2 separate regions of the Homo sapiens genome follow, and region 1 is linked to region 2. The links are contacts of gene promoters, found by promoter capture Hi-C in blood cells and fetal thymus (Javierre and others, 2016). All regions are on one chromosome and are shown on one strand. Each heading gives the region's core, a stretch centred on a gene start or on the middle of the fragment in contact. The rest is flanking DNA. Distances are from core to core; before and after follow the strand shown. Region 1 holds the start of TRAF4 (TNF receptor associated factor 4). Region 2 overlaps FAM222B (family with sequence similarity 222 member B).

Evidence for each region. Contacts are between HindIII fragments. The CHiCAGO score rates a contact against its expected background, and 5 or more counts as called.
Region 1: the fragment with the promoter of TRAF4 here is called in contact with a fragment that was not itself captured in region 2 in 1 of 17 cell types (fetal thymus); the score reaches 5.4 in fetal thymus.

Annotation. Positions count from the first base shown.
Region 1 is chr17:28,742,717-28,745,416 of GRCh38, reverse strand. TRAF4 (TNF receptor associated factor 4) reads right to left here and starts at 1,406. Exons shown (of 7, transcript NM_004295.4): 1 at 1,162-1,406. The coding sequence starts at 1,304. It overlaps NEK8 (NIMA related kinase 8), which reads right to left. Exons shown (of 15, transcript NM_178170.3): 15 at 1,962-2,700. RefSeq lists silencers at 928-1,127, 1,148-1,557, 2,012-2,306 and enhancers at 2,012-2,306, 1,330-2,330. The HindIII fragment of the contact is 4,112 bases long and covers 1-2,700 here.
Region 2 is chr17:28,808,525-28,811,224 of GRCh38, reverse strand. All of the region lies in intron 1 of FAM222B (family with sequence similarity 222 member B), which reads left to right. Among named protein-coding and RNA genes, the nearest start is that of FAM222B, 33 kb to the left of the region's middle. RefSeq lists an enhancer at 1,543-2,484. The HindIII fragment of the contact is 1,922 bases long and covers 448-2,369 here.

The DNA of each region.
Region 1 (2,700 bases), core at 157-2,656, 66 kb after region 2:
GAGCAGTGGCGGAGACAATGGGGCTGTGTCTGTAGGAGAGTAAATGTGTACACTGCCGAGGGGGAGGGGGCAGTCCTGCAGCTTGTGCCGGAGCATATGTGAGGGCAGGAGCCGGCCCAGGCTGTGGGGAACAGAAAACAAAGGGCCTGCTGAGATTTCCGCCAGTAGGAGCTACGGAGGACCGAGCGAGGGAGGGAGGCACGGCGGGAGGGAGCACCGGAGGCAGGCGTCTCAGAGGTACTATCCCTGCCAGGCCCTCGATCCCCTCGTCCCAGCAAACAGCCAGGCAGTGGCCGACTCGGCCTTCCCCTGCGCTCTGGGGGCATGACCTCCGAAGAGTCGGGGCTCCTTCACCCTGCTTCCCACACCCGGGCCTGAGGGGTTCCCTGCGTGAGCAGGAGATTCAAGACATACAGGGCGCCCAGAAACTTGATGGATGCCCAAGAGCCAAGGGCTAACCTGCGTCCTGAGAGGGCAGCGGGAGTTCAGTAACAACACGAGTGCGACCCCCTTCTTCATGACTTATGGACCACCCGCCTTACTCCAGCCCCCGGGAGAGAGGGGAGCCGCCTAGAGGGGTCCTTCTTCGGGGGAGGATTCAGTCCTTCCTCCATTGTGTGATCATAAGCAGTCCGGGTTTAAATCCTAGTTAAGCCTTTAAGTAACTATGTGACCCTGGGCAAGTCGCAGCCTTTCTTTGAATCTCGTTTCATGATCTGTGAAATGGGAGAACAATAGCTACCGTTCTCTGAACGTTCGAAGAATCAGAAGAGGTTAGATGGGGGAAAGCTCCGGAGGCTCAAACTGCCACGCGGGAGCGGGTTTTGTCCTCTTCCCCCAGGATTCAAAGTTCAAGGCTGAGGCCGCGCCGGCTCTCAGGTGACGGGGAAGGGCCTCTTCCCCTCCTGACCCCACGAGAAGGCGCCGAGGTCTTCCGCCCCGGGCCGGGCAGTTGGGACCCGCCCGGACCCCTCGGATTCCTGCGGGGGGGGCCTCCCTCGGGGCTTGACGTCATCCCTCCCCGTGACGTCACGGGGCGCCCCTGAGGTCACAGGGTCGCAGCGCAGACAAAGGCCCGCCTTGCCCCGGGCCCGAGACCCTCCCCAGGCGGCGCCCCCCGCCCCGCCCCGCCCCCGCTGTCCCCTGCTCCCCGGCCAGCACCTGAGGAACTCCTGCAGGCAGGTATCGCAGAAACGGTGGCCGCAGGTGGAAACCTGCACAGGCTCGCGCATGGGCTTCCCGCACAGTGGGCACAGCAGCCGTCGCTTGGGCTTCTCCAGGAACTTGTAGTCGAAGCCAGGCATGGCGGGCGAGCGGCCGGCACGGGCGAGCGGGGCCAGGCACGCGGCGGCCCCACAGCCCGCGCCTCGCTGGAGCGGCGCTCCCGGCTCCGGGCGGCGCCGACTGGCGGTCGCGGCCAGGGCTCGGCTGTGAAGCCCGCCCTCCGGAAGAGAGGGCGGACCGCGGCCGCGCGGTCCTAATGCGCGCCCTCGCGGCCCCGCCCACCCCCGAGTGCATGGTTTTTGGGTCTGGTGACCGCCAGTCTCGCCCACCCACGGGATCATGGGCTTTTCTTTCCCCTGGGGGACAGAGATCGTGGCTCCGCTTCTCCCCAGAGCCCGCGGGCCCCGGGGAAGTGCGGGTCGGAAAAGGGGACGGGCCGCGCCACAAAGGTTTTCTTCTCCAGAGGCAACAGCTCGGCCTCCGGGGCCGTGAGCAGCCCAGGAACCGTGGCCCCAGCTTCCAGGTGCTAGGCAGCCGAAGCCTGGCAACCAGCTCCGGGGAGCCCAGCTGGGGCGGGGAGGCTGGACTGGGCGCTGGGCCAGAGGAACCTCGGCCCCAGCCTCCGGCTGCGCCCACATTCCTCCCTTGGCCGCAGCCCTGCCACCGAGGTCGGGCCCAGCCCAGTCCTGGGGTGCCTGGTCGCCACCCCCACCCTTGAAGACACCACACTCCAGGCAGGCAGCTGATATTTTTATTGGCCTTCCTGTCCTCTGGGAAACCGGTCTGGTCCCACCAGCTACCCATTCTCTCAACTGTTTCTGGGGAAAGGCATGGGGGGGACGGGCAATCTCCAGCGCGGATCTTTTCTGCAGCACTTAGTGACTCCTGCCCTCCTGCTGGGGAAGAGAGGCAAGCCGACGTCTAGCAAATCCTGCCTCAGGATGAAAGTGTAGGGGAGGTGGCAGCACTCCCGGGGACCGCCCAGCCCCGGGCTATGCAGAAGCTAGGCAGGCCTAATGGCCAGTCCAGGCAGGCCCTGGCTTGCCCTGCTCCAAAGTATGGAGATAGAGTCCCGGTAAGCACCAAATACTTTTTTTTTTTTTTTTTTTTTTTTTTTTTTGAGAGGGAGACTTGCTCTGTCATCCAGGCTGGAGTGCAGTGGTGCGATCTCGGCTCACTGCAAACTTCACCTCCCGGGTTCAAGGGATTCTCTTGCCTTAGCCTCCAGAGTAGCTGGGATTACAGGCGCCCGTCACCATGCCTGGTTAATTTTTGTATTTTTAGTAGAGACGGGGTTTCACCATGTTGGCCAGGCTGGCCTCAGTCTACTGACCTCAAGTGATCCGCCCGCCTTGGCCTCCCAAAGTGCTGGAATTACAGGCGTGAGCCACCGCACCCAGCCTTATTTTCTTCTTTTTTTTTTTTTTTGGTGGAGACAGCGGTCTCGCTATGGTCCCCAGGCTGGTCTCCCAACTC
Region 2 (2,700 bases), core at 159-2,658:
TCGTGATCCACCCGCCTCGGCCTCCCAAAGTGCTGGGATTACAGGCGTGAGCCACCGCGCCTGGCCTAAATGGGCATTTTCAACGAAACGTGTTTGGAGCAGGTTTATCTTAATGTTGATTAGCAAAGAGCTACAGTACCAAAAGGGATGAATATTTTTTTTTTTGGCAACACTTTGATAAATATTAATTAAAATGGTTCAGAGTTTATGTAATACAGGTTCAGTTTCCCACGATTGTTGTAACTGGGGTCCACTTTTGAAGACAGAATTGATACACTGGAGCTGTCTTACACTTTTGGCTAGATTAGTGATTTTTTTCTTTGCATTGATTTATTAGATCTCTAGACAATTAGGAGCAATTTGGGATGAAAGCAAGTATTATAAAAAATAGGGATAATGGGATAGGAAACCATTTCAGCTGTGGAAAGTAATAGGGATTACGAAGCTTACTTTACCTTTTTTAAAAAGAAGATTTCAAATACCTTAGAATAGACATGTTACTAAAAAGTAGATTCACAGTAATCCTGTGTCAGGTTTTGGGTTTTTATTACTCACTTGTCCCTTAAGGCTCCATGAGTTGTATTTAAATTGGGAGGGAAAGGGGATCCCCCAGATGTTGACTAGTTAACTTGCTACTGAGAGTGAACTGTTAAAAATCACTGATTGAAGCCTTTACAGTTAGCTAGTATATAAAACAGAGTTAGCTAGTATATAAAACAAAGTTAGCTAGTATATAAAACAAAGTTAGCTAGTATATAAAACAAAGTTAGCTAGTATATAAAACAGAGTTAGCTAGTATGTAAAACAAAGTTAGCTAGTATATAAAACAAAGTTAGCTAGTATATAAAACAGAGTTAGCTAGTATATAAAACAAAGTGCACTTTGATATCTAAGGTATAGGAAGCTGGGGAAGTGACCAAAAAAACCAGTTGGAAGGCGGGGTGCAATGGCTTGCTCCTGTAATCCCAGCACTTTGGGAGGCTGAGGTGGGTGGATCACTTGAAGTCAGAAGTTAAAGACCAACATGGTGAAAACCCCGTCTCTACCAAAACATAAAAAAATTAGCTGGGCGTGGTGGTGCACTCCTGTAGTCCCAGCTGCTTGGGAGGCTGAGGTGGGAGAATTGCTGGAACCCGGGAGGCAGAGGTTGCAGTGAGCCAAGGTTGTACCACTGCACTCCAACCTGGGTGACACAGTGAGACCCTGTCTCAAAAAAACAAAAACAAAAACAAAAAAAAACCAGTTGGAGGCTGTACAATTTCAACTTGCTTCTGTCAAAAAACAAGTTTGCCCTTCTATTTGATATCTGGGTGGTTTTTATGTTCTCTACCCATGGGTGAGCAGTAAGTACAGCTTTATAAAGTTATACTTCACTCACTTTTTTATATTACTATTTTTTAATTTTTATGTTTTGTAGAGAATAGGGTCTGGCTCTGTTGCCCAGGTTGGTCTCAAACTCCTGGCCTCAAGCAGCCCTCCCAGAGGCCTCCCAAAGTGTTGGGATTAAGGTGTGAGCCACTGCACCCCTCCACGCCCGATATTTCTATTTTTTTGACTGATTTGTGTGATCACTGTTTTGCATGGTGCAATAATTAGGGGTTCGTGAAAGAATTTTCCCAGGAGACAGAAGACTATGTATAGAACTAATCATAAATGTATTTGCACTGATGTTCAAATATCATTTAAGGGGCATGGAAATCCTGGAATTTGGTCATCTGCAAGGAAACAATTATAGAAAGCCATAATCTCTTAGGTTGAGGGGGCATAGTGCTGGTTGAGGTTAAAGCAGTTGATTTAATTTTCTTTAGCAGTCTGTTTTTATCCAACCTGCTTATTTCATTTCTCTCTCTCTCTCTTTTTTTTTTTTTTTTTGAGACGGAGTCTCGCTCTGTCACCCAGGCTGGAATGCAGTGGCACAATCTCTCTGCTCACTGCAGCCTCTGCTTCCCAGGTTCAAGCAGTTCTCCTGCCTCAGCCTCCTGAGTAGCTGGGACTACAGACACGCACCAGCACGCCTGGCTAATTTTTGTATTTTCAGTAGAGACAGGGTTTCACCATGTTGGCCAGGGTGGTCTCAAACTGACCTCAGATGGTCCACCTGCCTCGGCCTTCCACAGTGCTGGGATTACAGGCATGAGCCACCGTGCCCGGCCCATCCTGCTTATTTCTGTGAGTCACGGCTTGGAATGTGTTAAGAAAAAGGACTCTATGTTCTCTCTAAAGGGAGACTCGAGACTAATCCCCTGTTCACATCAGAAGTATAAAATGATCCCCTTGAGAAGGTGAAAGAAAAATATTGGGCCCTTGGCATTGCTTGATTCTCAGAATAATCAGCTTGAGTGTTGTAAGGTTTGGAATTGGGAAAAGCTTACTCTAGGTGAGAAAATATTAGAGGCACAGGAGACTCTGAGAATGCTCTGTCAATTGTCAGAGACTTATTTAGAACAATGGATGCATTCATATGGAGATGTGGGTGATGGTAGTTTTTAGCTTTTCAGCTTTTTCAGTCAGGTGTCAGAGACAATATTTTGTGTGTTTAAGCACAATCCCCTCCCCCAGGGTTTGACTCTTGGAAGCTGAATCTTTTGAGGAAGTTGTTTGCTATGAGTCTGAATCCTGAAAGTAGAGGACTTGATGGAGTCTGTAATCTGTTTACCACTCAGATGAGGATGTAGAATTTATTGTTGGTGAGTTACTGAA